7 separate regions of the Homo sapiens genome follow, and regions 2, 3, 4, 5, 6 and 7 are each linked to region 1. Evidence: promoter capture Hi-C in 16 types of primary human blood cells and fetal thymus (Javierre and others, 2016). All regions are on one chromosome and are shown on one strand. Each heading gives the region's core, a stretch centred on a gene start or on the middle of the fragment in contact. The rest is flanking DNA. Distances are from core to core; before and after follow the strand shown. Region 1 holds the start of SMARCC2 (SWI/SNF related BAF chromatin remodeling complex subunit C2). Region 2 overlaps PTGES3 (prostaglandin E synthase 3). Region 3 overlaps BLOC1S1 (biogenesis of lysosomal organelles complex 1 subunit 1). Region 4 has its middle 6.6 kb from the start of ATP5F1B. Region 5 overlaps GDF11 (growth differentiation factor 11). Region 6 holds the start of BAZ2A (bromodomain adjacent to zinc finger domain 2A). Region 7 overlaps BAZ2A (bromodomain adjacent to zinc finger domain 2A).

What was found. The method cuts DNA at HindIII sites, captures the fragments that hold promoters and counts their contacts. A CHiCAGO score of 5 or more calls a contact.
Region 2: a fragment that was not itself captured here is called in contact with the fragment with the promoter of SMARCC2 in region 1 in 1 of 17 cell types (total B cells); the score reaches 5.1 in total B cells.
Region 3: a contact is called between a fragment that was not itself captured here and the fragment with the promoter of SMARCC2 in region 1, in 5 of 17 cell types (total CD8 T cells, fetal thymus, naive CD8 T cells and 2 more). The highest score is 7.1, in total CD8 T cells.
Region 4: a contact is called between a fragment that was not itself captured here and the fragment with the promoter of SMARCC2 in region 1, in 2 of 17 cell types (total CD8 T cells and naive CD4 T cells). The highest score is 5.8, in total CD8 T cells.
Region 5: a fragment that was not itself captured here is called in contact with the fragment with the promoter of SMARCC2 in region 1 in 7 of 17 cell types (total B cells, total CD8 T cells, naive CD8 T cells and 4 more); the score reaches 9.0 in total B cells.
Region 6: a contact is called between the fragment with the promoter of BAZ2A here and the fragment with the promoter of SMARCC2 in region 1, in 13 of 17 cell types (erythroblasts, M2 macrophages, total B cells and 10 more). The highest score is 9.0, in erythroblasts.
Region 7: a contact is called between a fragment that was not itself captured here and the fragment with the promoter of SMARCC2 in region 1, in 4 of 17 cell types (naive B cells, naive CD4 T cells, erythroblasts and 1 more). The highest score is 7.0, in naive B cells.

The regions. Positions count from the first base shown.
Region 1 is chr12:56,187,493-56,191,573 of GRCh38, reverse strand. SMARCC2 (SWI/SNF related BAF chromatin remodeling complex subunit C2) reads left to right here and starts at 2,091. Exons shown (of 29, transcript NM_001330288.2): 1 at 2,091-2,223. The coding sequence starts at 2,113. It overlaps TRS-CGA4-1 (tRNA-Ser (anticodon CGA) 4-1), which reads right to left and starts at 1,210; the gene lies at 1,129-1,210. It overlaps LOC107984468 (a long non-coding RNA gene), which reads right to left and starts at 882. Exons shown (of 2, transcript XR_007063330.1): 1 at 348-882. RefSeq lists an enhancer at 1,445-1,544 and silencers at 1,785-2,064, 2,135-2,354. The HindIII fragment of the contact is 5,408 bases long and covers 1-4,035 here.
Region 2 is chr12:56,670,055-56,674,135 of GRCh38, reverse strand. PTGES3 (prostaglandin E synthase 3) reads left to right here. Exons shown (of 8, transcript NM_006601.7): 2 at 1,071-1,184; 3 at 1,327-1,396; 4 at 2,289-2,387; 5 at 3,772-3,861. It also overlaps the pseudogene RN7SL809P. Among named protein-coding and RNA genes, the nearest start is that of PTGES3, 16 kb to the left of the region's middle. The HindIII fragment of the contact is 1,450 bases long and covers 1,197-2,646 here.
Region 3 is chr12:55,716,512-55,720,592 of GRCh38, reverse strand. It overlaps BLOC1S1 (biogenesis of lysosomal organelles complex 1 subunit 1), which reads right to left. Exons shown (of 4, transcript NM_001487.4): 2 at 3,588-3,660; 3 at 1,370-1,502; 4 at 890-1,094. The coding sequence ends at 984. BLOC1S1-RDH5 (BLOC1S1-RDH5 readthrough) reads right to left here. Exons shown (of 6, transcript NR_037658.1): 2 at 3,588-3,660; 3 at 1,370-1,502. It overlaps RDH5 (retinol dehydrogenase 5), which reads right to left and starts at 200. Exons shown (of 5, transcript NM_002905.5): 1 at 76-200. RefSeq lists enhancers at 2,333-2,492, 2,603-2,652, 2,753-2,912, 3,843-4,081. The HindIII fragment of the contact is 2,957 bases long and covers 658-3,614 here.
Region 4 is chr12:56,650,507-56,654,587 of GRCh38, reverse strand. No RefSeq gene overlaps it. Among named protein-coding and RNA genes, the nearest start is that of ATP5F1B, 6.6 kb to the right of the region's middle. The HindIII fragment of the contact is 2,056 bases long and covers 1,292-3,347 here.
Region 5 is chr12:55,746,116-55,750,196 of GRCh38, reverse strand. GDF11 (growth differentiation factor 11) reads right to left here. Exons shown (of 3, transcript NM_005811.5): 2 at 1,214-1,611; 3 at 1-695. The coding sequence ends at 315. Among named protein-coding and RNA genes, the nearest start is that of GDF11, 5.0 kb to the right of the region's middle. RefSeq lists enhancers at 2,675-3,178, 3,179-3,682. The HindIII fragment of the contact is 9,248 bases long and covers 1-4,081 here.
Region 6 is chr12:56,628,170-56,632,250 of GRCh38, reverse strand. It overlaps BAZ2A (bromodomain adjacent to zinc finger domain 2A), which reads left to right and starts at 1,925. Exons shown (of 29, transcript NM_001300905.2): 1 at 1,925-2,126. RefSeq lists enhancers at 1,619-1,688, 1,719-1,768 and a silencer at 1,989-2,338. The HindIII fragment of the contact is 7,835 bases long and covers 1-3,168 here.
Region 7 is chr12:56,611,673-56,615,753 of GRCh38, reverse strand. BAZ2A (bromodomain adjacent to zinc finger domain 2A) reads left to right here. Exons shown (of 29, transcript NM_001300905.2): 3 at 147-740; 4 at 1,616-1,801; 5 at 2,521-2,739; 6 at 3,508-3,981. Among named protein-coding and RNA genes, the nearest start is that of BAZ2A, 17 kb to the left of the region's middle. The HindIII fragment of the contact is 2,002 bases long and covers 1,277-3,278 here.

The DNA.
Region 1 (4,081 bases), core at 842-3,341:
GCATGCCTGTAGTCCCAGCTACTGAGGAGGGAGGATTGCTTGGGCCTGGGAGTTTGAGGTTGCAGTGAACTGAGATCGCACCAATGCACTCCAGCCTGGGCGACAGAGCGGGACCCTGTCACAAAAACAACCCCCCAAAACAAACAACAAAATCCTCAACAAGCAGCCTAGATCCTCCCCACAATCAGAAATTAGGGGATAGGAAAAATGGGGTGAGATGAGTATAGGAGGGTTAAAGGTTAAAGATGAGATTAATTTCCTTGCTTGGTTAATACACATAGATAATTTAAAACAGTATCTGGCACATAATAAGCACTCAATAAAAAGTGAGAATTATCTTCCCATACCTTGGCTCTAACTGGATCTGCAATGATGTTTCAATAGACTACTCCCTTCTAGCCCTGTACACCTCAAGGAAATCCAGATGAGAGAATCCTGTTTCCTGGGTCTTCGGTGTAATCAGACCTACAAGGTGTGACTTCTGGTCATGAAATTTAGAGGAAACTCTAAGTTTGACTAATATTGCAAAACAGCCACTCACATTCCCAAAATGTAACCCTTCAACCAAATCCTTCCCTATGCCCTCAAAAGAATGAGACATGTGCCAAAGCTCTCCCAGGAAGCCTGAAGTTACAAAATTCTGAAAATGCCTCACAGTCTAGCAGCCAATACAGTCGTGCATAATTAAACTTCCCAAGATCACTCCCATCCTCCCAAATCCAGGGGTTAAGACCTTTTGGCGGCTTCCCTTTTGGAGAGAGAAAGTGCACGAAAGAAACGTGTGAGAACTGGGGTTACCTTTATGTGCTGTGAAAGGGGTTAAAAAAGTCGACGCCTGTAATCCCAGCATTTTGGGAGGCCGAGGCGGGCAGATAACCTGAGGTCAGGAGTTTGAGACCAGCCTGGCCAATATGGTGAACCTGTCTCTACTAAAAATACAAAAATTAGCCAGGTATGGTGACGCATGCCTGTGGTCCCAGCTACTCGGGAAGCTAAGGCAGGAGAATTGCTTGAACCCGGGAAGCGGAGGTTGCGGTGAGCCGAGATCGCGCCACTGCACTCCAGCCTGAGCAACAGAGCGAGACTCCCTTTTAATAATAAGAAGAAGAAAGAAAAAAAAAAAAAACCCGTCACGAACAGGATTCGAACCTGTGCGGGGAAACCCCATTGGATTTCGAGTCCAACGCCTTAACCACTCGGCCACCGTGACTTCCAAAACCGCGCTTTATCGCGCGCTTACAGAAGGGGTCCGCACTGCAATCCGGGAATGCGTGCGGGAACCGGAAGCAGGGTACCGGCCCCGACACACACACACCTGAGGACTCCCCACCCCTCGGTTCCTTACCTCCTATCTACGCCACCCAAAGAAAAAGAGTCGGATGGACTGGGTGACCCAGGGAGGGAGGGTCTCCTGCCTAGCGAAGAGTCGGGGTCTCGAGTAGGAGCTCACACCTACTTAGGAGGCGACAGCGAGGCCTGCGGAGGAAGCAGTTGAGGGAAGGCACTGGGCCGCCAGGGTGGCGACTAGGGGACATTTGGGTTAACAAGTGAGGGGAGTGCTGGGTGGACAAGGCGCGAGGAGTGAGGGAGACTCTGAAAAGTTTAAATGGGGAGCTGCTGTGAATGGATGGAAGGAAGGAACTTCTTGGGGAAAGGGGTTTGGGGTTTTGGGGGACGAGGGGCTTCGTCGGGTTAGGAATGCGCAAGGTGAGGACCACTCGGGTCTACGGGTTGGGGCTGCTCCAGCGACTGGCGGCCGCCTGGAGTGGGATAGCGAGGTGACACTCCCGAGCTGAGGCAAAAAGAGGGAAAGGGCTTCGCGTCTGGTAAGAGCGATCTCAGGAGAATGGCGCCCCCTCCAGGAAGCGTCCTTCTCCCCGGAGGCTCCCGCCTCCGCTGCCGGGGAGGCCGCCAGGGTCGGCCCGCGCCTGGAGCTCCGCCGCCGCGCCCGGCCTGCCGGCAGGGGGCGCAGCGCGGACCGGGGCCGGCCCAGGCGGCGGGAGGCGGCGGCCGCGGCGGCGGGAGGCGGCGGGAGGCGGGCGGAGGAGGAGGCGGAGGAGGCGGGAGCTGAGCTGAGTGGGGCGGGCGGCGGCGGGGCCCGAGCCGGAGAAGATGGCGGTGCGGAAGAAGGACGGCGGCCCCAACGTGAAGTACTACGAGGCCGCGGACACCGTGACCCAGTTCGACAACGTGCGGCTGTGGCTCGGCAAGAACTACAAGAAGGTACGCGGGCCGGGCCGGGCCGCGCGGGGACCGGGGGCGGGACAAAGGGACCGCGGCCCTGCAGCCCCGGGATCCTGCCTACCCTCCAGGCGCCCCAGCCCCTCCCCCGCGGCCTCCCAAGCAGCCCCCCGCGCGCCCTCCTGCGCTCCCGCGCCCCTCCCCCAGCCTCCCTCTCCCCGCACCCCCAGCCTCTGAGCCCAGCCCCCGCCCCCACTGCTGCGCCCTCTGCCCCTTGTTTTTCTCTACTGCCCGGCGGGCCCCGGTGCCATTAGCCCACCTTCCCCTCAGCCATCGCCCTCCTGGCTTTTCTGGGAGAGGCGGCCGGCCGGGTGTGGACCGGGTGCCCAATGGGCTCCCCCGCAACCCGGAGCGTGCCCGCCAGAGCTCCCCACGGAGCCAGGTACCAGCGGGGCTGAGGCCTCTCCGGTGCTTTGTGTATGTTCAGAGAGAGAGAATGGAAAGCAGGAGGGTAAACAGTCACAGAGCAAGCCGTTGGCTGCTCATCAGCCTGAAAAAGGTCTCCACCCAGGGATCACCTGTCTCCGCCGCTCATCCCCCACCTTCATCTAAGGGGCAACAGAATCTCTCAGGGAGCCGGGGTATAGGAGTTCCTGGGTAGCGGCCCCTTCCGAAACCTTTCCTCGATTTTACAATGAAGTCACCTTGCAACCTAGCTTTGCAGTACCCTGGGTTTGGGGTCGAGAGGTTAGGGTGAGCTTCCTATCTCTAGCCCCTCACACCCAAACCCCATAACTGGAGATCATAAGGTGGTGAACAAAAGGTTCAAGAATCCTTACCTGTCTTTTCTACCAAACCTCTTCCTGGTGTCGTCTTTGTCTCTAGGCCTGGTTTTCTCTGGAAATGGTCTGCCTCTCTTTTTCTCACTACCCTCAGAGAGGGATTCTCTTTATGGCTTTCTTTCAGCTCCCCAGTTCTTCCTGCCGGCTTTGCAGCTCGTCAGAAGTGTGCTTAGTGGCTTAGGAGAACTTCCTACTGATGCTGGTTGTGAGCCTGGCCCTGCCCTTGGGGTCTCTCTGGGTGTGAGAATCCTGACAAATAGCTGCTATTTCTATGGCATGTCTCTACGCCTGTGAGAGGCTCTTATTCCCAGGCTTCTACCTTTGACCTTTTGCAGGGAGATCAGGCTAGGGGCTTAGCCTCCGGCCTTGGGGGAATTGACAGTTGTGACCTGGTTCAGCTTCCATGCTCTTAGCTCTTTGTCATTTACCTTTCCCTTCACAGATCTATCTCTTTTCACCTCTCACTGAGAGGCACTGTCTTCTTTGTGATGAGTGGGGAGAAAACGGGTCAAAAAGTAAAAAGAAAGTCTCCTGGCTCAGGTTCAAATTAGAATGGAAGGCTAGGATGCTACTAGGTAGCAGAGTGTGGAAACATAGAAGTAGGGCCAGGGTTACTTGTCTCAGATACAGTTTCCTCGGACAGGGTAGATGTTGTCTTGCTCTTCTCCATCAGGCTGGGTAGTGGATGGCCCTTCCTGTCTAGGAGGGCCTATGAAGACATTTATACCCAGTCTTCAGAAGCAAAATGCACAAGCTCACTCAGTCAACTTGCCCTCCTTCACTTCCTTGTACCTTTTCTTGTTAGGCTACATTATAGGGGGAATCATGGCTTTACAGAGTTCCCCTAAGAAATGTCTCTCTTAGAGCCCCAGAGGTATTGCTTCCATGACCTGAACTTTATAAACCTCCAGAATTTTACAACCCTCAGTGCTGTTGGTTAAAGATGAGGTGCCAAGATAATAGGGTCCTGCAACTCCAATTTCAGAGTATAACTGAGGAAGAGTAGTAAGCTTCCCTGTTCCCCCCAACACTGGCCACCTGGGCTGGTGGCAGCAGAA
Region 2 (4,081 bases), core at 672-3,171, 480 kb before region 1:
TTCTTAAGATGTACTGGGGGTTAGGACTTCAATGTATTAATTTTGAGGAAACTGATAAAATTCTAGATTGCTGAATTTGAGGAAAGGAGATTGATTCTCCTGGTTTCAGTGAACTTAATGTAAAAAGTGAAGCTCTGATGTACCAGTGTTTTTTGTTGTTGTTGTTTGTTTTGAGACAGAGTCTCTGTTGCCCAGGCTGGATTGCAGTGGCATGATCTCAGCTCACCGCAGCCTCCACCTCCCGGGTTCAAGTGATTCTTGTGCCTCAGTCCCATCCCTCAAGTATCTGGGACTACAGGCCTGCATCACCATGCCCAGCTAATTTTTTTTTTTTTTTTTTTTTTTTGAGACAGTCTCGCTCTGTTGCCAGGCTGGAGTGCAATGGCGCAATCTCGGCTCATTGCAACCTCCGCCTCCCAGGTTCAAGCGATGCTCCTGCCTCAGCCTCCCAAGTAGCTGAGATTACAGGCGCCTGCCACTGTGCCTGGCTAATTTTTGTATTTTAGTAGAGATGGGGTTTCACCATGTTGGTCAGGCTGGTCTCGAACTCCTGAGCTTAGGTGATCCACCCACCTCAGCCTCCCAAAGTGCTGGGATTACAGGCGTGAGCCACCGTACCCTGCTTTTTTTTTTTTTTTTTTTTTTTTTTTCCGTATTTGTATTTGTAGTAGAGTCGGGGTTTCGCTGTGCTGGCCAGGCTGGTCTCTAGCTCTCCTGGCCTCAAGTGACCCACCTGCCTTGGCCTCCCAAAGTGCTGGGATTACAGGTGTGAGCCACTGCACCCAGCCAAGTAACATAATTTTTGATAGGACTAGATAAACGGCTAACTCTACTAAGCATTGTTTGGTTTTTAAATCTTTCCTATTATGAAATTGGAATCATTCTGAAACTAAATCTTGTTAGACCCATAGGTTTTAACTTGGAATGTAGCTGTTAGGGTAAAAATGTAGTTTTTGTTTAAAATTGTAACAAACTGCCCTGAAATAATGCTATAATGGTGTCGAAGGTTAGTATGTGAATGTTTAGTTAATGAATTCCAGCTTGACTTTCCCTACTTTATCCTTTTGTAGGCAGCCTGCTTCTGCAAAGTGGTACGATCGAAGGGACTATGTCTTCATTGAATTTTGTGTTGAAGACAGTAAGGATGTTAATGTAAATTTTGAAAAATCCAAACTTACATTCAGGTAAGTTAAGCTTTTTATCCAATGATGTAAAATAGTCATTCACACAACTGAATAACTTTGACTGGCTTGTCTTTTCATTGAAGTTATTATTAATCTTTGTCTCTTTGAAGAGGCTTAATTCTTTCTTTATTATTTTATACAGTTGTCTCGGAGGAAGTGATAATTTTAAGCATTTAAATGAAATTGATCTTTTTCACTGTATTGATCCAAATGTAAGTAGTCTTTATGCTTTAATCCAAATTTTAGTTGTGAGGAAACAGACATACCAAGTATTCTTTTTAGCAATGAGCATTAGTTCTGTTTTTCTTAACAGTGAGGCAAACTATGTATATTTACATTTTGTAGAATATTTCCTCCAAAATTGGTTTCTGCATACTTTTTGTTTTTGCTATCACTGTTTGGGCTTAGAGTAGTATCCTTGAGGCTCGTCTCATCTTTTTTATTTGTTTTGTTTTTTTGTTTGTTTGGTTTTGTTCTTTGAGACTGCTGCAGTACAATGGAGCGATCCCGGCTCACTGCAACCTCTGCCTCGTAGGTTCCAGGGATTCTCCTGCCTCAGCCTCTGGAGCAGCTGGGATTACAGGCACATGCCACCATGCCTGGCTAATTTTTGTGTTTTTAGTAAAGACCATGTTGGTCAGGCTGGTCTCAAACTCCTGACCTCAGGTGTTCCACCTGCCTCGGCCTCCCAAAGTGCTGGGATTACAGGCATGAGCCACTGCGCCCGGCCAAGGCTTCCCTTATCTAAGAATAGAATCTTTAAACCATTCTGTGGTTATATCATTTTTAGTTAAAGTTTTTAAGGTTTTATTCTGTTTATCGTGTGCAGGAAAGAAAAAAATGGTACCAGGTTAAACTTTAAACTTTATTGTTGTGCAGATTATTTCAGTAGGAAATAGAAGGGAAAAAAAAATTTTTTTTTAAATGAAACTTAAAGGGGGTTGGGGCAGTTGGATAGTTTGAAGTTTTTAGTAGTCAAGGGCATGTTTCAGAGTCCAGAGAAAATTTAGGTAAAGAAATGAGAAAGGTGAGAAATGACAAGCTATTTTCTATCATGTAGTGATGCTGGAAAGATAAATGGTATGATGGTCCTTTTGTTTTTAGGATTCCAAGCATAAAAGAACGGACAGATCAATTTTATGTTGTTTACGAAAAGGAGAATCTGGCCAGTCATGGCCAAGGTTAACAAAAGAAAGGGCAAAGGTAGGTTTCATTTTCCTTTTTTGAAAAGTTTGATATTTTTATTTTAGGTAATAAAAGATGTACTTATTTGATGTAAGGAATATGGCTGTGTTTTTGTTTCACAGCTAAGTATAAAGCCTCATGTTCATGTTTTTTGTCTACTCAGTTTTAATACGAAGTGTGATCAGAATATCAGTTATTAACTGGTGTAGAATCTTTTGTACTTAAGAGACAGACTTTGCATAAATTACTCAGCTATCACATGGGAGGGGACAAAGCTTGGTGAAAAAATAATCAACTGAAAATAGTTCTTACTAGTAAATTTGTTTTCAAAAGGTATGTTTAACAATTTTCAGTGTTTTTTTTCCCCCAAAACAGGGTCTCTCTTTGTCACCCAGGCTGGAGTGCAGTGGCACGATCTTGGCTCACTGCAGCCTCAGTTTCCCAGGCTCCAAGTGATCCTCCCTCCTCAGTCCCCCAAGTAGCTGGGACTGTAGGGGCATGCCACAACACCTGGCTAATTTTTGTATTTTTTGTAGAAAGGGGTATCACAGTGTTGCCCAGCTTGGTCTTGAACTTCTGGGCTCAAGCAGTCTCCCCACCTCAGCCTCCCAAAGTGCTGGGACTACAGGCATGAGCCACGACACCAGCCTAGTCTTTTTTTTTAGGTAGTCTCATGCCACTCATGCCAGAGTGCACTGGTGTGAACATGGCTCACTGTAGCCTCCACCTGGGCTTAAGCGATCCTCCCACCCACCTCACCTCTCCAAATAGCTAGGATTGTAGGAATGTGCCACCACGCCCAGGAAATTTGTTTTTTTGTTTTTTCCCCAGATACAGGATCCACTATTGCTCAGGCTGTCTCGAACTCCTGAAGGATTACACAACTAGTCTTTCCACCTTGGCCACCCAAAGTGTTGGGGTTACAGGTGTGAGCCACCTCATTTAGCTTAGTCTATTCTTTGTGTGCTAATTACATGCCCTCCTAAAAATACAAAGTCACAGTTCAAAAAATATTGTTTTGCCAGGCACCAGTAGCATGTGCCTGTTGTAGTTAAAAGCTACTCTGGAGGGTGAAGTGGGAGAAATACTTGCGCCCAAGTCTGGGTTGCATTGCCATATGTCAGGTAACCACGCTAAGTTAACATCAGTACGGTGTTGTCCCAGGAAGCGGGGACCACCAGGTTGCCTGAAGAGGGTAAACAAGACCCTTGGTCAGAAACGGAGCTGGTCAAAACTCACATATTGATCAATAGTGGGATTGCACCTGTGAATGCTTGCTGCACTCCAGCCTGGGCAACATAGCAAGACCTGGTCTCTTTAGAAGAAAAGAAAACGTAGTCTTAAGGTTCATGCCAAATGCAAATTAGCCTAATCTTAGGGTGATATTTGTATTGATTTATAGCTTAATTGGCTTAGTGTCGACTTCAATAATTGGAAAGACTGGGAAGATGATTCAGATGAAGACATGTCTAATTTTGATCGTTTCTCTGAGGTAAGTTCCTTTAAATGGACCTCTCCCCATTCGAAGCACACGGTACCTGTCTATGTAGTCAATTTAATATGGTTTTGGGCACCTAATGGTATTCATGATGCATGTTATTTTATTTTTAAGACCATTTTGCAGTCATAGTAAATAGATGTTAACAATGGCAATTTTAATCCTGAAGTTGAACCATTTTAATGATTTTAAAAGGAATTAGTGTTAGCTACAA
Region 3 (4,081 bases), core at 887-3,386, 470 kb after region 1:
GAAAGTTTTGAGTTGGCAATACATGTAATATCTGGCTAGTCTTCTCAGTTCCCCCAGCTCCCAGTATCCACTTACCTCCTGTGGCGAAAGCTGGCAGGTACTACAGCGCCCGAAGCTTATTCTTTTGCTTTTGTTTAAGAGACTGCTCCCAGTCTTCCCAGCCTCCCACACTAACTACTGCTAAGGCCAAAGTCCGGAGTGGGTGGACTTGGATGCCAGGCGTATTAAGTGTATGTGTGACAGGGTGGGGATAGGACTGAGGAGGAGGAGGAGCCAGGGAGGCTGGAGCTTGCCTGGCTGAAGCCAGGACTTGGCAGAGGCCAGATTTGCCTAGGCTCCCCCCACCCCTTGGCTGTCTTTCTCAGCCTGGGTTCCTGACCATCTATGTCATGGTCTCCAAGGAGGAGGGAGCTGTCAAGGATGGCAGCTGCACTGCTCTGTTGGTAACGGTTACTGGACCTGTCATTCCTCCCCCTTCTCAGCCCTGAAGTGCCCCCAGGAATTAATCTCCCACCTGGCTCAGACTCATGACACTGCTTAGAGTTAGCCTGGGAGAGGCCATGAGCACGTGGAGAGGCAGAAAGCCAGAGCTGGGGACCAGGCCTGTACCTTGCCTTGTTTCTCTTCTGTAGGAAACAAGTCCTGAATTAGGAAGCTTGGGGCAGGGCTACTAGGACCTTCTCTCAGGAGGGATGGGAACTCCCACCCTCTGCTTGCCTAACAGACACCTGCACAAGGGCCATGGAGGAGAAGAGAGTTGGGATAGTAAGAGGAAGCTAGTTCCACCCTCTCCCCAAAAGGTACCTGTCCCTCAGGGAAACCACCTTTGAACCTTCCACTCCCACCCCCGACACTGGAGCTAGTAGCTCTCTGAAACACACCACAGAGAAACGGAGGCTTGTGTTTTATTCAAGGCTTGTCAGCCTCCCTCCTTCCCCCTGCGGGTGAGGTAGGAGGGATAGGGTTGGGGGAGGGAACAGGGGCTAGGAAGGGGCAGACTGCAGCTGCCCTTTGTAGACATATTCCAGTGCAGTGGCAATGGTGCGCATGTCCAGCTCGATGCTCCGAGCCCAGTTCTCCACATCCCCAATTTCCTGGGAAGGGGGAGAGGAGGTGGGAGCCCAGGAATCAGAATGGGTAGAGTATGGCTTCCAGTCTGGGGAATACGTTTTATTCATCTCCTGGAAAAGGCTTTACTTGGACCCACCAACTGCTTTTCTTTCTTTCTCTACCTTTTCTGACACTGGGGCTATAGATGGGGTTTCTGGGACCACCCTACTTCCTCCTTAACCTAAACCTGAGGTAACCTGACTGGAGGCAGCCAATGGGGGCCCAGGATTGGGGTGGTGAGGTAGGGAGTATGGCCCACCTTGAGTGCCTGGTTGAAGTTCTCCACCATTCCGATCCACTGGCCTGTCTGCTTGGCAAATTGGGCAGCCTGGACCTGTAGGGTCTTCACCTCATGGTCCAGCTTTCTCTGGTTCATGTAGGCCTGGGCCACACTGGGGGGTTGGAGGAGGGAGGAGATCAGCTCCAGCTAGTTGGGGGTGGTCTCCGGGACTAATATTCCATTGCAGCAGTGGGAGTTCAGCCAAGAATCAGGGCTCATAATTTTGGCCATTTTTGGATGTGATGCAAATGACTACCAGTACATGCAAATAAACCCAGCTCCTTCCTTTCACTCCCAGGATTCCCAGGAGAGCCAAGCTCGGAGCTGACTAGAAACATACCAGCTCCAAACCCCAAAAAGGAGTTCCTGCAGCTGAGTGGGGGAAGGGAGGGAAAACCTGGGGTGATATCCCTGAGGAAAAAGCTGGGAGGGAAAAAGGGGCATGGAAAAACTGGGAAAATCCAGCAGGAGGAACACATCTGGCAGTGATTGGAAGCCTAGGGATCTATGCAAGAAGTTGGAGAGGGAAATTGGGCCCCTCCCTGAAGCCGGGTTAGGATGGGAGTACAAACCCCCTCCCCAGGAACCCTGGGTCAAAAGAGGGTATCCCAGGGGTTTCTTCTCGGCTCTCAGTTGCTCTCCCAAGCCTTCGCTTTTGCCCACACAGATCAAGGAACACACACAAACACACACACACACACACACACACATGCTCTCCCTCCCTTCTGCCTTAGGCACTAGTTTTTCTTTTCAATCAAGGTATGGGCTGTGGTTACCATTACTACCATGGGGTTGGTGTCCCCAACCTTCTGCCAGTGTTTTTTGCCCTCCCCAACCCCTGCAATAATTGTTCTCCTTTATTGGCTGTTGAATTTTTCACTTCCCACCCCAGAGCTCTACTCAGCCAGGAGATTCCACATCCGGTGCCCCCACCCACTGGAATGTGTGGGGGCTGGAGCGGGGAAGGGGTTGGTGGGGGCTGAGGGAGTGGGCAGGACACCTGACAGGGGCCAAGATAGACTGAGCCTTTGTTTTCCTTTCCGGGGAATGAGAGGAGGCGTGGGCAGCAACACAAAACCCTTTCTAATCTGGCTTTGGCTTAGCTGCCCTCTAAGCTGAAAGTGGGGTGGCATCTAGCAAAGGAAAAGAAGAGGGAAAGGCCTGGGCCAATCTCACAAATGATGGGCACAGCAGAGCCCAGGAGGTGCCAATGTGGGAGGGAGGAAATGGGAGGGCAGACCCTGTTCCTTCTTTTTGGGAGACAGCTGGGTCACTGTCAAGGGTCGGGTAGGAACTGAAACAGACTCCCCTGAGAATTCCTGAACTTCTGGTTTTCCCCATTGACCACCTGCTTCTATATTCACACTGAGTAAAGAGAGCTGCCTGGAGAGAAGGGAGATCAGAGGCCCCAGCCACAACTTTCTTTCTCTCAACCTTCCCCCAAGATGAGTAACAAAGATGACCCCAGCCCCTGCATGGCTCACTTGGATGACTCAGTCTCTGGATTCACACCGAGCTGTTCTACTTGACCTGGGGTGGAAGGTACCATACTGCCTTTCTTCCAATAGGCAGACTAGCAAATCATCATCTCTGCACGCTTCTGGGTCACTTAGGGTCAAGAGACAATGTTCTTTGCTTTTTCCCAAGTCTTTGGCTGTTACTTGCATTCTCATTTAGGGCTGGGGCAGGGTGTGGTCCCTAGAGACCCAATAGGAAGGTAAGAGACAGCCTGGCTCTGCCATAGCTCCCGGAACAGGTTCTACTCTCACCACCACCAGCTCTGCCATCTCTTTCCTGCCAGCTGCTCCCCAGGCTTGCCAGAGGGTGGGAGGCAGAGGAGAGGGTGGTAAGCTGTAATGAAGGAGGGTGCTCTCCCTCCTGCTGAAGTGACAGCTGGACTTGGAAGGGTGAAGGGAGGTGGGCAGATGGCATCAAGTTGTAAATGCCAGGGAAGTTAACGTGGGGAAGGGGAAATCTGGCTGCTTCTCTAACCACGGCAGCTGTTCCTCCCTTGCCCAGTGCTAGGACTCAGAGTTGACTCAAGTTGCTCTACAAAGAGCTGGGAGGGGCGGGGTAGGATAGGGGAATTAGTGGAACATCCCACCCCTTCAACAGCTATTTGAGGGCCAGACTGGCCAGTGCCTAAACTTGGGCGGGGTGGGGAAGGAGGAAACTGATGTTGATAAGAGGTCCATACCCCACATTGAGGTGATCCACCAAAGCTTCTGTCAGGCAGGTCGCTGCAGTGATAGCCTCTCGCCTCCTCTTTTCTGGGGAGAGGGGGAAAAGGAATTGGAGGGGAGACTTGGTTTTTTGAGGGGTAGTGTTAAAGGTTCCCTACCCATCCATTACTATTCTGCTAGTTGCCGAAATTTCTTAACTAATCTCTGAATGCCGGAGCTGAAAAGGACCTTGCAAAACATAGCGCAACCTCTTTCATTTTAGAGATGAGGAAACTGGTACCCTGGGAGGGAAATGGACTCACTCAGGGACGCCAGGAAGTCAGCGGCAGCGCCCAGGACTCCTGACTCCCAGGCACTCTTTCTCCACTACTCGGCCGCAGAATCGGTAACTCCGAGATTTCCAGCCCGGACTCAGGAAACAAGTGCCCCACCTCCGTTCCGGTGGTTTCAGGCCTCCAAGAAGCCCATCTCTGGGGGGTTCCCCACACCCTCCTCCCTCCAGAGTCGC
Region 4 (4,081 bases), core at 1,070-3,569, 460 kb before region 1:
GCTTGCAGAGAGCTGAGACCATGCCACTGCACTCCAGCCTGGGCGACAGAGCGAGACTCTGTCTCAAAAAAAAAAAACAAAAAACAAAACAAAAAACAACAATAGGGTATCAGGGGAACCAGCCCCTAATATTTCAACATAGGTTCTTTTCTATTTTCCCTAAGTGTCAGCCGGTCTGAGAAATAAAGGGAAAGAGTACAAAAGAGAGCAATTTTAAAGCTGGGTGTCCGGGGGAGACATCACATGTCAGCAGGATCCGTGATGCCCCCTGAGTTGCAAAACCAGCAAGTTTTTATTATGGATTTCAAAAGGGGAGGGGTGTACGAATAGGGTGTGGGTCACAGAGATCACATGCTTCAAGAGCAATAAAATATCACAAGGCAAATAGGGGCAGAGTGAGGTCACAGGACCAGGGCAAAATTAGAATTGCTGATGAAGTTTCATGTCCCACTGGGCACACATTGTCATTGATAACATCTTATCAGGAGACAGGGTTTGAGAGCAGACAACCGATCTGACTAAAATTTACTAGGCAGGAATTTCCTAATCCTAATAAGCCTGGGGGTGCTACAGGAGACCAGGGCTTATTTCATCCCTTATCTATAACCATATAAGACACACACTCCCAGAGCGGCCATTTTAGAGACCTCCCCCTGGGAATGCATTCTCTTTCTCAGGGCTGTTCCTTGCTGAGAAAAATAACTCAGCGGTATTACTCCTATTCGCTTTTGTAAGAAGAGAAACATGACTCTGTTCTGTCCGGCCCCACAGGCAGTCAGGCCCAATGGTTATCTCCCTTGTTCCCTGAAAATCGCAGCCATCCTGTTCCTTTTGGATGTCCAGATTTCATATTGTTCAAACACACATGCTCTACAAACAATCTGTGCAGATAATGCAATTATCACAGGATCCTGAGGCAACATACATCCTCAGCTTATGAAGATGACGGGATTAAGAGATTAAAGACAGGCATAGGAAATTATAAGAGTATTGATTGGGGAAGTGATAAATGTACATGAAATCTTCACAATTTCTGTTCAGAGATTGCAGTAAAAACAGGCGTAAGAAATTATAAAAGTATTAATTTGGGGAACTAATAAATGTCCATGAAATCTTCACAATTTATGTTCTGCTGTGGCTTCAGCCGGTCCCTCCGTTTGGGGTCCCTGACTTCCCGCAACAATAGGGTTTCCATTTTTATGAGAATCTAATGCCATCACTGATCTGACAGGAGGCAGAATTCAGGTGGTAACGTGAGCAGTGGGGAGAAGCTGTAAATACAGATGAAGCTTTGGTCACTCGACCACAACTCTCCTCCTGCTGTGTGGCCTGGTTCCTAACAGGCCATGGACGGGTACTGGTCTGTGGCCCAGGCACTGGGGAACCCTGCATTATATGTATATGAAACAGAAAGTGAGTGGAATGTATGCAAAAAGTTTTTTCAATGGTCATTTTTGGGAAGGACAGTGGAAGTTTTGGAAGTAATGGTGAAAGAACTCATCCTGTACACCTAGAATATGTTCATATGTTACTTGTGTAATAAATAGTGCTTCCAAATTGTGACCTAAGAAAGGAATATTGGATTTCTGAAAGAGAATATTTCAACTTGGGAATGGCTGTGGAAGTAGGCTGCTTATGTGAAATGGGAATGTGAAAAACTAATTGGAATTGAAGTGGTTGAGGATCTCTGAAGCCAGGGCATTGAATGGGTTCTTTTCGTGGAATTTGAAATAATCCGGGATGATTGTCAAGAAATGTAGTAGAGACCAAAAAAACACATTCCACCAATTACCAGAGTACTGGAAGGATGTGGGGGTATGACCAATGTGGATAGCAGTAATGAAAGGATTTGGTGGAAAATGTAATTTTCACTTCAAGATGAATTTTAAATTACAGAGCACAGTCATTTGGAATTAACTTCAGATAAGAAACCAGATTGGGTGGGTCTGTGTGGTTCCTATTCCCCTGTGAAAAATAACTTGTACTTTTTTTTTTTTTTTCCATTCAGGTTCCATTTATTTTTGACATTTTTACATAACCATCCTTGCAGGGGTAACTCCTGCATCACTCTAGAACTTCAGGTTCCGTCCCTCTCCCTCTCCCTCTCCCCCTCCCCTCCCCCTCCCCTCCCCCTCCCCCTCCCCCTCCCCTTCCCTCTCTCCATGGTCTCCCTCTGAAGCCGAGCCGAGGTTGGACTGCACTGCCGCCATCTCGGCTCACTGCAACCTCCCTGCCCGACTCTCCTGCCTCAGCCTGCCGATCGCCCGGGACTGCAGGCGCGTGCCGCCACGCCTGACTGGTCTTTGCTGGAGTGCAGTGGCATGATCTGGGCTCGCTACAGCCTCCACCTCCCAGCCTCCTGCCCTGGCCTCCCAAAGTGCCGAGATTGCAGCCTCTGCCCGGCTGCCACCCCATCTGGGAAGCGAGGAGCGTCTCTGCCTGGCCGCCCATCATCTGGGATGCGAGGAGCCCCTCTGCCCTGCCGCCCAGCCTGGGAAGTGAGGAGCGCCTCTTCCCGGCCGCCATCCCATCTGGGAAGTGACGAGCGTCTCTGCCTGGCCGCCCATCGTCTGAGATGTGGGGAGCGCCTCTGCCCCGCCGCCCCGTCTGGGATGTGAGGAGCGCCTCCGCCCGGCCACGACCCCGTCTGGGAACTGAGGAGTGTCTCTGCCTGACCGCCACCCCGTCTGGGAGGTGAGGAGCGTCTCTGCCCGGCCGCCCCGTCTAAGAAGTGAGGAGCCCCTCCGCCCGGCAGCTGCCCCGTCTGGGAAATGAGGAGCGTCTCCACCTGGCAGCCGCCCCGTCTGGGAGGGAGGTGGGGGGCAGCCCCCGCCCAGCCAGCCGCCCCGTCCGGGAGGGAGGTGGGGGGCAGCCCCCGCCCGGCCAGCCACCCCGACTTGTACTTTATATAAAATATCACTTGGACAATCTGGGTCTCAATCAAGAAATACGTAGGAAAGGCCGGCCGCCGTGGCTCACGCCTGTAATCCCAGCACTTTGGGAGGCCGACATGGGCGGATCACGAGGTCAGGAGATCGAGACCATCCTGGCTAACACAGTGAAACCCTGTCTCTACTAAAAAAAATACAAAAAAATTAGCCGGGCGTGGTGGCGGGTGCCTGTAGTCCCAGCGACTCGGGAGGCTGAGGCAGGAGAATGGCGTGAACCCGGAGGCGGAGCTTGCAGTGAGCTGAGATCGTGCCACTGCACTCCAGCCCGGGCAACATAGCAAGACTCCATCTCAAAAAAAAATATGTAGGACAAAAACATGTTACAACTCTAAAATAGATTACATTATTTATTCAGAATGCTGGTTAAGGCATATCTCAATCTGAGCTAATCAAGCTTATTCTATTTTAGACATTATTACTTATATTAATAAATTTAACTGATTTCAGAGGAGAGGGAGAGGAGGTTGTTAAAGGCCAACATTGATAGCAACAGAGTGAGAAAAATTAAGAGTTCACAAACTTCAGCTTAATGGTCTCATGGAGAAATAGCTCTTTTTTACTTTTAACTTTTTTTTTTTTGAGATGGAGTCTCCCTCTGTCGCCCAGGCTGGAGTGCAGTGGCGTGATCTTGGCTCACAGCAAGCTCCGCCTCCAGGGTTCACGCCATTCTCCTGCCTCAGCCTCCCGAGTAGCTGGGATTACAGGCGCCCACCACCACACCTGGCTAATTTTTTGTATTTTTAGTAGAGACGGGGTTTCACCGCGTAAGCCAGGATGGTCTCAATCTCCTGACCTCATGACCCACCTGCCTTTGCCTCCCAAAGTGCTGGGATTACAGGCGTGAGCCACCATGCCCGGCCCTTTTTTTTTTTTTTTTTTTTTTTAATAGAGACGGGGTCTCCCTACATTGCTCAGGTTGGTCTCAAACTCCTGGGCTCAAGGAATCCTCCCATCTTGGGGTCCCAAAGTGCTGAGATTACAGGCGTGAGCCATGGAGCCCCACCTCATTAACACTGAAAGCATTTAGCATTGCAATGTGATAAAAAGGTTTGTTGAATGAATAACCCTAATACCCAAGAAAAGTTAAATTACTTGGTAATTTGATAAGAGGACAAATGTGTGATACATTT
Region 5 (4,081 bases), core at 462-2,961, 440 kb after region 1:
GCCTTCTCACTGCTGCTCTTTTTGTTCCTCTGTCTCTATCACTGTCTCTACATCTCTCTGTCTTTTTGTCAAACCTTCTCATCTGCAAACTTCAAACACTCCCCACCCTGACTATGCCCCTGCTTCCCCTTTCCCCCAAACCCCTCACCCTCAATTCCCACCTGCCTCCCTCTGTTGTATTGCACACGGCTTGGTCGGGGAACGGTGTGATGTTCGCGGGAAGAGTGGAGGGAGCTCTAGGGCTTGGGGGGATGGGGGCAGGGCTAGGGGTCTTGGGGTAGGGTCTGTGGGGGAGGCATCCTCTATCCCCCACCTTAAGAGCAGCCACAGCGATCCACCACCATGCCAGGGATCTTGCCGTAGATAATCTGCTGCTTGTCATTGAAGTAGAGCATGTTGATTGGGGACATCTTGGTGGGGGTACAACAGGGCCCAGCAGAGCCTCTTGGATTGGCCTGCTGCACCAAATGGGTATGCGGATATTTTTGCATGAACATGTACTCGCACTGGCCGGAGCAGTAGTTGGCCTTGTAGCGCTTAGGTGCGATGATCCAGTCCCAGCCGAAAGCCTCAAAGTCCACTGTGAGGGGATATCGGCAGCAGCGGGACTCGCTTGAGTGCTCGTCGCAGTCCAGACCCAGGTTCCGCCGGGAACGTTTTGTGTTCTCTAGGACTCGAAGCTCCATGAATGGATGCTGAGGGTCAGGGAGAGGGGAAAGAAATGTGATATGGTCCTGAACAGTTCCTCTTCCCTGTTCCTTTCCCACCTGCCAGGGGCATCAGAATAGAGACTGCTGACTTCTCAGCTTTTCCATTGCTCCCACCCCCAGAATTTATCTTTTGCCCACTTTTCTTGCCAGCTAGCTAGCTCTCCTTCAACTCACCATCTCTAATTCTTACTCTTCTGGCAACCTGATCCCTGTCAGCCCCTTGGCCCAACGCCTCAACAGCCAGTTTTTTTGTTCTCACAGCTCTTCCATTAACTGACACCTTTACCTTCAAATCCAGTTTTCAGCTGTTGTCTGATTTGGATCCTTGAGAAGTAATAGTTGCCACCCCACTCCTCACCTCCTCCTCTAGAATCAGCTGCTGACCCCAGAGAAGTAATGCTGGTCCCCAACCTCCTTCACATTCCTTGTCTACCTTTTCCAATGTAACCCTATCTCCTCAGGGCCAGGTTACACATATCCACCACCTCAGGCCCCCTGCTCACCAGCCCCTCGGCTCCCGGCCCCAGGGAGGTGACAGCCAGGTCTGTGCCACTGGGATCAAAGGCGTTGATCTCGATGCCCCAGTTGCTCTGTGGCTGGCGGAACCAGCTGTGTAGCACTTGCTTGAAGTCGATGCTCTGCCAATGGCCTGAGCGTGAGTGCAGCTCAATCTTCAGTGAGCGGATACGGATGTGACGCCGGCCTCCGCCCCCTCCCCCTGCGGTCCCTTCCCCAGTTAGGGGTTTTAGTCGCAAGATCTGCAGGTAGACTGTGGCTGGGCGGGGTACAGGCCGTAGGTACACCCACAGCTGGGCCTTCAGTACCTTTGTGAACATCACCTTGGGGCTGAAGTGAAAATGGCAGCAGAGAGGGCTGCCATCTGTCTGTACTGCTGGGTCCGCTGATAAGAGAGAAGGGCACAGCATCAGCAAAGGGTGTTTGTGTAGGGGATCAGTAGTCCTGGGTGGCACTGGCAATTTTGGACTTCTCAGCCTGATTTTCCAGTTCTTCTTTACCCTTCTCCCATGCCTATCTTATACCATGTCTCCGGTACCTAAAACAGCACTTCCTCTTTAGGATGATGGCCCTATAAGGCCTTACTGATCTGTGTCCATTTCCTAATCCATTTGCCCTAATATATAGGTTCCTGTCTACCAGATAACCTGCAAAATTATTCATCCACCACCATCCTTACTGTCCAACTTTTCCCAGCATATAAGGCTCCAACATTTTCTGAATCTTTGAAGCTCTTTATAGAAGCCATACCTCTTATCACACCTGCTGCCCTTCCATCACCTTTCCCCTATCTGCTCTGATTTATCTGCTGGACAGGTAGAGCCTGGCACATCCCTCCCCCACAAAATAACACAGATGGCCTCAGAGAGGGGATAACCCAGGGTCCAGATAGGGAGCATGAGCTAAATTTATCCCATTATGTAAACCAGAATTCAGATCTAGGCTTCTTGCCTCACTCCCATTAGGAATAACACCCAGCAAAATGGAACTATCCAAGCACTTCCTATACATCTGTCTCCCCATTCTCTCTTAAGAAGTTTCTTCAGCTGCTGCTCCATCATCATCACCATGACTGCCCCCAGCTCTTGAGGAAAGGAATAATTACCTCCATGGTGTTGCCTCCTATTTGCCTAAAGCACCAGAAATAATATTAAATACACCAGATTAACTACAATGCCTTTTTTCTCCCCTGAGCTTCCTTTGACTTCTCAGTCTAGTGCCAGTAGGTCTTTACAAAGTTTGAACATCCCAACTTTACATTTTGACCCATTTCCCCTTGCTCTGGACCTTAAATTGATCCTTCTTGGGTCTAATAGATGATTCTCAATAAATATCTGCCTCTGCCTCCATTCCAGCTCCTCTTCACTGCCTTTCCTAAGTCAGTTGGGAGTGTCCTACAACATGTCTCCATTGGACAGAATATGTCTATCCTGACTCTAGATAGGAAGAATCAGGAATGAGCTTCCAGAGCCATATAAGCAGGGTTAGGAAGTCTAGGCCTTTAAGTATCCTCCCCATGTCTTGAGTTCTGCAAAATCAGGATGGACTTAGGGTGTCCTGTCAGCTCTTCCCCACCCCCACCCTGGGAGAAAGAGGACCTTCTAAGGGAGATGAGGAGAAAGTGCTTAATGAACTTCATATATTCAGGATATGATACCCAAAGTCTCTATAGCTTTTTTTTTTCTTGATTATTCTCTGAGGTCCCAGGGCCCTGGTAGTCCAGTTATTTTACTGGCTGGAGCTTCAGTGATGGTGCAATGGAGTAGGGTTTGGGGGGTGAGAATTCAGAGATCAGAAGTAGCTGGGATAGGGAAGCTACTAGTGAGATGGGGAGTGACAAGCAACATCCCAAATAGCATACTTTACAAATTTCAGCATAAGAATTGTCTATTTTCTTGCCATTAGGTACTAATCTCCATGAGAGTGGACACTGTTGTTATTCATACTGTGTCTGTTTTGCTCACCATTGTAGCTTCAGTGCCTCCCATAGTGCTAGACAGCACTCAATAAATACATGGTGAATGAACTCCCTAAACTCCCAATCTTAAATTATACAGGCAAGTGCCTGAAAGTTCTTCCTGGCATCTAAATTCTGTTCTTTGGCTATAATTGAAGTGGGTTTAATCACTGCCTGATTCCTTACTAACCACTATCTAACCTTACTCACCAAACTTCTCAGTGTGATACAGATAATAATAATTCTTGCTTCACATGAGTGCTGAGCATTAACTAGAGAATGTGAAAATAGGAAACAAACAAACCAACATTTATTGAGAAGCTACTACTATTTTCGCATTCTCTACTAAGCTCTAAACATAACCCTCCCTCTACCTAAGCTGATCCAGGGTTTGAAGATGAGGGCTACATCTAAGTCTTTGGTTCCACATACTTGTCCCAGTGGACAGGGGACAGTCAGTGCTACAAGGAGGTAGAACATAGGGAGAAAGAAAAGAGCAGGGAGAAGAGCCAGGGGAGAGACTGGAGATGGTGAGGGAGATAATAGAGAAGAGACTGTTAAGAGTTGAAGGCATATTAGTAGATATAGGGAGAGAAATAGAAGTTAGAGTGGAAAGATGCAGGGGATAATCATGGCAAAGGGAGAATAAGTTTGAGAGTTTGAGAATCCTGATGCAGAGGCAGTGATAGAAAGGAGTGGGTGATGGTTAGAAAGCTAAAGGTGGGAGGAAGCTAAACCTAGTGGGGTAAAGGAGAGAAAGGATAGAAAGGGTACAGACTGAGGAACAAAGGAGAAGCAGGTAGAGCCACAGAGGGAAACGGGGCTCGAGAGAGTACCCAGCACACATATGCCGAGCTCTGATGGGGAGGAAAAGGGGCCACATCTGTGTTGAATTGAT
Region 6 (4,081 bases), core at 676-3,175, 440 kb before region 1:
TAGAGAGGCATTTCTTAGCAGAAGTTTGCCAGAGCCCTCCTTTCTCCAGAAGGAAGGAAACCTCTACCCTGAGTGTGACCTCTACTTACTCAGGGACTTGAGGTCAGCAGGCTGTTGGAGGAGTATTTTTTTTTCCCCAAGGTGACCTGTAAATCTGTTGTTTTGACAGGGAGGAGAGAAGGGTTTTGGTTTCCACCTGCCTATTCCCTCCACTGGTAATCTACTTATCTCGAGAGAGGAAGAGAAACCCCCTTAGCCTTCTGTGTCTGTGGCCCACACACTCTGTGAGCCTTTGCTAAAGCTAGCTTCCTTCTTATCCTCTCTGAGCCATTTGTAGTGGGGGGGTGGAGGGGTGGAGTCTTTCCCCAAAATTCAGGAAGAGCCCACCCCTCTGTGGAGTAAGGAAATCCAATGTAGACTGATGGATCTCACCCCCCAACTCTGCCCATTTTTCAGATCTCTTTCCTCCTCAGACCCCCAGAGGAAAACGTATTTGTTGACACCCCAACTTGCCAGAGTTTCATCATCCCCACTCTGTTGCTTTTCCAGAATATTCAGCAGCCTGAGCTTTGCACAGTTTAGGCAACTGTTTCTAGAACTGCATTGCATTGAATTAAATGGGAATTATCTTCAAGGCTGCAAAGTGTTGAGTTGCAAGGAAAGGAAACCTGGTTTCCTTTCTTGTCATATTTTATCCACTGTTTGACATTGAAGAAGTCATTGAACCTCTTTGGGTCTTAATTTCTTCATTTGATGAAGGAGAGAAGGTTGAACTAGAATTTTTTTTTTTTTTTTTTTTTGAGATAGAGTCTCCCTCTGTCACCCAGGCTGGAGTGCAATGGCGCGATCTCAGTTCACTGCAACCTCCACCTCCCAGGTTCAAGCGATTCTCTTGCCTCGGCCTCCTGAGTAGCTGAGATTACAGGGGCACGCCACCACACCCAGCTAATTTTTGTATTTTTAGTAGAGACCGGGTTTCATCATGTTGGTCAGGCTGGTCTTGAACTCCTGACATCATGATCCACCTGCCTCGGCCTCCCAAAGTGCTGGGATTACAGCCGTGAGCCACCGCGTCCGGCCTGAACTAGAAATTCTCTAAGCTCTAACATCATATGACACTGTTCTTCATCCTGGTGCCCTGCAGTGGACATTTTAGGTGACAGCCAAACTCTAGTCCTCTGCTAGATTTTACTTTTCTGAGTTTTCACACAGTTATGTAGCCCTGTCAGAAAAAAATTCCCAGAACCATAGAATGGGTGGACATTTGTGGCATCTTTTTGCTGATTAGTTTTCAGCTTATCCTTTACTTCTCTGACTGCATTTAGGCTACACTCAGGTCTTTGCTGTCTGGTTCCAGAGCCGAACCTTCTTTCCCCCACGCACAGGAATCTTTCCTTTCCGGTGACCAGGGCCCTGCAGATGTCGCCAGGAAAGTGGTGATCCAGGCAGGACCAGGCTGCACTGAAGGGACAGAGGTGAGTGGGTGGCTGACTCTTGCCTCTCCCCATCCCTTTACTGAATCGCGACCTGAGTGACTAACCTTTCTATTTCCACGTTTCCATTACCCTACCTGGGAAATAACTGCCCCCGAAATTCCCCTGACTCTTACCCCTACCAGCCTGTTAGAGAAGTGGCACCTGCCTTTGGGCCTAGACGTTTGGTCTAGTCTTTTAAGTTAACCTTGGGACTGTGGCATGCCTTTCAGTTTGCCCTGTGTGAAGCAGGACCACTGCCTCCATGAGATGCGGGTGCAGAGGGAGCTGCCAGGTGGGCAAGGTGGCCAGAGTTGCAGGAGGCACAGCGGCGCTAGGACCCAGGTCCGGGTCGGAAAGATGGGCTGGCGGGCTTTAGGACCCTGTGGCGGAGGCCGCGTGGGGAGACTCTCTCCCGGCCGAGGCTTCTCCGCCCCCTCCGGCTCCGACTCACTCCTCCCCCGCCGGCCATGTTGGCTCCTCTCGGGCCCCGCGGTTGAGCCGCGTCCCCCTCCCCCTTCCCGAACCCCGGACCCCAGACCCCCTCCCCAGCGGGCGTCTCCACCCGTTCTGGCGCCCGGAGCGCGGCCATGTGAACCGCTTGTACCCCGGGGAGAGACGAGCCCCGAGCCCGGCTGGACGCCGCTGCCTCAGGTTTGTGGGGTCTGTGGCCAGGGGCCTGAGGGGGAGGGAGCCCCGCTTTCATCCGAGGCTTCCCTCGGGGAACAGAAGCTCCAGAGCCGGCTTGAGCCTTGCCGGGGCGGGAAGCCGACGGGAGCTTATTTCCTGCGAGGATCCAACCCGAGGCGAGGGTCTCCTTGCTCTGGGGTCTGGGAGGAGAACAGGGCTGGTGGGGCTGCTGAGGACCCCGGACGGGGCCGCGGGGGCAGGAGGAGCTGTAGGGGCTCCCGGCGACAGTGAGGAGGCGGAGAAGCCGCCTGGCTGGTGGAGATGACTCCTGTGGGGGACTTGGGGTGGAATCCCCGGGAGGGGCTCCACCTCCTCGGGTGGGGGTGGGGATTGCCTGAGCGCGAGGGGTGGGTGAGGGGGTTCCCTTGGCGGGTTAAAACGCTCCGTTTGCGGGGAGCTGGGCGTTTTGACTGTGGTGAGTGGAGGGCGGAAGGGGTTTCCAGGGGTCTGAGGGTGTCTCCCTCGGGGAGCGCACCCATTCTCTTGAGCGTGAAGATCAGGAGAGGGCCTTCCTTGCTGAGGGTGGTGCTGCGCTTGGCTTGGGGCCCTCGCGTCCCGGGAGAATCGCGCACTCCGGGGATGGAGGTTGATAGGGCTTCCGCTGAGGCTTTCCAATTTGAGCTGGGCTGAGGGGCAGAAGGGAAGAATAAAGAGGAATTCCTTTTTCCAAGGAGATTCCTCACTGAGGGGATCCCCGCTTCCGTGGCAGAAAGATGATACCGCATCATCCCTTTCTTTCCCGGTGTTCCCAGTTTTCAGGAGAAGGCAATGTCAATAGCAGTTGTCCTTTGTAGGGTTAATTGGAGTGAGAGATTTGTCTGCTTTGGGGGACGACGGAGGGGATAGCTTTCCACCTCTATCTGTACACAAACAGCCCCTCCCCCAGCCTCCCGCAGGAAGTGGCCGGGAAATGGCAGCTGTGCGTTTGCTGCTGCGTGTCTTGTTGTTTTGAAATGTCCATTTTAATCAGATTTGGTTTCATTTTCTGAAGCCTTCTGGGCAAGCTTGGATCTTGCCAACCATGTGGCCCGAGAGACCTTTCGTTGGACTTTTTTTTTTTTTGTAAACTTGTCAACTGGAAGTAGTCAACTTCAGTTGACTCACGTATCCCAATCCCTTCTCCAGAACATCTCTGTCTTCCTGTCTGGTTTCGTTTTGTTTTCCCTTTAGCTAGAGGTCATAGAGAAGCAAACTCAGTTATCTACCAGCGGGGTACGCTCTATGTAAGTGATGCAAATTCCCTCAGCATAGAGAGCTGTCAGGGAGACTAGAGAGCTTTTGTGGCACGAGTAGCTTCTTGGGGTCCTACTTTAGTATAGTTATTATGACAGTTTCTATATTGCAGAGCACCTGAGCAAGTGAGCTTGTGAAGAAGGGTAGATTCTAAGAAATGGACGAAGAGGAAGGGGTGAGGAAGATTTAACTATTAGATGGATTTGTGTGTCGGGGGTAGGGACTGATTAACAGACTGAGATTGGTGAACTCAGTCCTTGGTGGTGATTCTAGCCTAAGGGCAGCCCCTGTGGGAAGCTTGTTATTTGACTAAGGGGTGCTGGAGATACTACCTTCTGCAGAATCAACTAATTAGAATAGTACAGTTTGTTATCATATGACTTACTCTTTAATCCATAAAAGAACGTCTCCCCTCTTATTCTTCTTGGAGATTGGTAAGCTTTTCCTCTGTTCCCTGCAAAGTCGTGCCCAGATTTTTTTTTTCTTTCTTTTCACTTGATAATCCCAGGATATTTCTCCTGTAACATATAGTGATGGACTGTGTGCTATGTCCCCAGGCATTTTGTGGCACACTGGATTTGGTTAGGGGCAACAGTTGGCCACAGAATTTTATTTTTCTTTCTTTTCTTTTTCTTTTCTTTTTTTTTCTTTCTGTCTTTTTTTTTTTTTTTTTTTTTTGAGACGGA
Region 7 (4,081 bases), core at 1,028-3,527, 420 kb before region 1:
AGACCCAAAAACTAAATATAGCAGGGGAGGAATCCCCCTTCCCTTTACCATGTCTTTTTCTAGTCAGTGCTATTACTTTGAGTTTGTTTTGGTAAAGTTGCTTGCCTACATATCTGTAACTGACCTTTTCTTTCTTTCTCTGCCAGGTTTGAATGGGGATGTGAATGTTAATGGCTTATCTACTGTATCTCACACTACTACTTCAGGGATTTTGAACTCTGCTCCCCACTCCTCCAGCACCTCACACCTCCATCACCCCAGCGTGGCCTACGACTGTCTCTGGAACTACTCACAGTACCCATCTGCCAATCCTGGCAGCAACCTCAAGGACCCACCCCTTCTCTCCCAGTTCTCGGGGGGACAATACCCACTCAACGGCATCCTTGGGGGCAGCCGGCAACCTTCATCCCCAAGTCATAACACTAACCTTCGGGCTGGGAGCCAAGAGTTCTGGGCCAACGGTACCCAGAGTCCCATGGGGCTTAACTTTGATTCACAAGAACTGTATGATTCCTTTCCTGACCAGAATTTTGAGGTGATGCCCAATGGACCCCCTAGTTTTTTCACCTCCCCACAGACTTCTCCTATGTTGGGATCTAGCATTCAAACCTTTGCACCCTCCCAGGAGGTAGGCAGTGGTATCCATCCTGATGAGGCAGCAGAAAAGGAGATGACTTCAGTTGTGGCAGAGAATGGCACTGGCTTGGTAGGCAGCTTGGAGCTGGAAGAAGAGCAGCCAGGTATAACTGGGTTGGTGAACTGGGTGGGGAAAGGAAAAATGGAGCTCGGGGGGGATAGTGGCTTTTTGAGGTGAGAAAAACTTGTCTTTCCAGCTCTCTGCAGTGGAGGCTGATTTGCATGTTGGTGATTAGCAATTAGCAGAGCCAAGTGGCTGGTGTTTTTGTGGCAGCAGCACCAGCTCGCGAGTGGGAGTGCAAATTATTTCAAGCTCATGCAGAGCTTCTGGCCTGGAGAGGGCAGGTGGGCGAGCCCGAAACAGCCCCAACAGACACCCTGCATCAAGAAAGGCTTCTTTCAAAATATACGGAGTGGTTAGGGTCTAGCAGCGGGCATTGAGGCTGTTTTAACTGACTGTGGCAGGATCAGACTGGCTGTTAAAGTCGTCTGAGCCCAATGTAGTGATTGGCATGCGAAGGAGGGAAGGAAGCAGGCAGAGCATATCATTATTTGTCTACTCAGTTTCCTTTTTTTTGTTGTTTAGCATTAGTACACGTGACAGCCCCTCTCATCTTTTCCCTCAAAATAGATAAAAGCTTAGCTTCCAGTTGATTCCTGGTACAAGGGTAACCACCACTCTGTAAAATTACAGGATGTTTTCTCGTTTCCCAATGGATGGAGGAGATATCTGAGAACATGATAGAGATGTTGTATCAGACCCCACTCTCTTTTCCTCTCTTTGCCTGCTGTAGGATTGATTTTACCAGCACATCTCTGCTCAGAGTATCTTGATGTGATCGGTTCCCAGCAATGAACTGGCCGCAATAAATGTTGAATGAATGAACATCCTTCTAGCAAAGATTGACTGCCTAGTATAGCTAAGTGAACCAATATAAGGCACTGATTTTGACTTTTGGTCTCTCCTGTGATTTCCTAGAACTGAAGATGTGTGGCTACAATGGCTCTGTCCCTTCTGTGGAATCGTTACACCAAGAGGTCTCAGTCCTGGTCCCTGACCCCACAGTGAGCTGTTTAGATGATCCTTCACATCTTCCTGATCAACTGGAAGACACTCCAATCCTCAGTGAAGACTCTCTGGAGCCCTTCAACTCTCTGGCACCAGGTAGGTTTGGAGGCTATGTCCCTTTAACTTATCCATGCAGAGTAGCCAAACTTTACCTGAAAGAGACAGTAAAATGGGAAAAGTATTAGGCAATCAGGGGCACTGGGGCTTCCAGGTAGGCCTAAGGCAGACCACAGTTACATGCCACAGGACTTGGTGCCCTAACTGAATTCTGAGCTGAATTGGTTCATGTCCCAGGTTCTTTCCCAGTATTCCTTTTGGCCAAGAGCTCTGGGCTGTAATAATTCACTGGGTAGGGACTTATTATCACACAGTTGATCTTTCTGGGTTCTGACAAACTAGGAAGAAAACATTTGTCAGTGAGCAGTTACCTTTTACTCCACTGAAGTACAAGAAAGACATATTTTATGATAAATCCTAGAATTTTGCATAGGTCTCTGGGTAGATAATACCACCAATGCCTTTCCTTTCATTTTCACCTTGTAGAGATGAGGTCTTGCTATGTTGTCCAGGCTGGTCTTGAACTCTGGCCTCAAGCAATTCTTCTGCCTCGGCCTCCCCTCAAACTTTTATGATCCCTATAATCTCATGACTACTCTTTCAGGGAGAAGGCTTTACTTGTTACCTAACTTAATATTAGGAAGAATCTTCACATTGTGGGAACTAGAATTGGATGTTTTCTGACCAGTGTTTCTTAAATCTTGCTTTCTGATTTTTTTCTCATTATCCTGCTCTGATTTTTCTACCCTTGTAAACAGAGCCAGTGAGTGGAGGACTATATGGTATTGATGACACGGAGCTGATGGGTGCAGAGGACAAGCTGCCTCTTGAGGACAGCCCTGTGATTTCTGCCCTTGATTGCCCTTCCCTCAATAATGCTACTGCCTTCAGTCTCCTGGCAGATGATAGTCAAACATCAACCTCTATCTTTGCCAGTCCCACCTCTCCACCTGTCCTAGGGGAGTCTGTCCTGCAAGGTAAGTGACGGTAGGTAGGACAAAGAAAGACCTTTACCTGAGAAAAGATGAGAGAATAAGTTTCATAGTTAGGGCCTTAAGAGTGGGAAATCTGGCTGGGCGCAGTGGCTCACGCCTGTAATCTCAGCACTTCGGGAGGCCGAGGCGGGTGGATCACCTGAGATCAGGAGTTTGAGACCACCTGGCCAACATGGTGAAACCCCGCCTCTACTAAAAATACAAAAATTAGCCAGGTGTGTTGGCACATGCCTGTAATCCCAGCTACCTGGGAGGCTGAGGCAGGAGAATCGCTTGGCCCCAGGAGGCAGAGGTTGCAGTGAGCCGAGATTGTGTCGTTGCACTCCAACCTGGGCAACAGAGCAAGACTCCATCTCAAAAAAAAAGTAGGAAAGCAAGAGCACCTTGCTGGGAGCTGAGGGGCTATGGGATAGTGTATGGTGGAACTAAAAGAGGTATAGGCTGCTATACTCCGACCTGTGCCCTCTGCTTTGAAGAACTTGTGAGACTTGGAATTTGTAGGGAGAAGGAGGCTAGAAGCTTTATTGGCACCAGGTAAAAGGTATTTCTTCACACAATGACATCTGTAGCAACTTTACCCTTTAATCCTCATGATTGGTTGGGAGAAAAAGCTACTTCTTTTTCCAACCCTAGGGAAGACCCCTTGAAGTAACCCTGTTTAGCTTGGTCCAGGGTTGACTGAGTAGATTCTCTTGTTTTATGTGATGCCTTTTTTTTTTTTAAAGCCTATCCTGTCCCTTTGGATTCTAGATAACAGCTTTGACCTGAATAATGGTAGTGACGCTGAACAGGAAGAAATGGAAACTCAATCTTCAGACTTCCCACCATCCCTGACCCAGCCAGCTCCTGATCAGTCATCCACTATTCAGCTACATCCAGCAACCTCACCAGCAGTCTCGCCAACAACCTCCCCAGCAGTCTCCCTAGTGGTTTCTCCAGCAGCCTCCCCAGAAATCTCTCCAGAAGTTTGTCCCGCAGCTTCTACAGTTGTCTCTCCAGCAGTCTTCTCAGTGGTCTCTCCAGCTTCCTCAGCAGTCCTCCCAGCAGTCTCCTTAGAAGTCCCGTTGACGGCTTCAGTGACATCCCCAAAAGCCTCTCCCGTAACTTCCCCAGCAGCTGCCTTTCCAACAGCCTCCCCAGCAAATAAGGATGTCAGCAGCTTTCTAGAAACCACTGCTGACGTGGAAGAGATCACTGGAGAAGGACTCACTGCTTCTGGTAGTGGTGAGTATCCAGATTCTATTCTATCCCTGTCTGGTTCCAAGAAACTTTTCTGTCCCATGTTGTAGTTAGCCTTTCCCTATTGGCCTATTGTTTAAATATT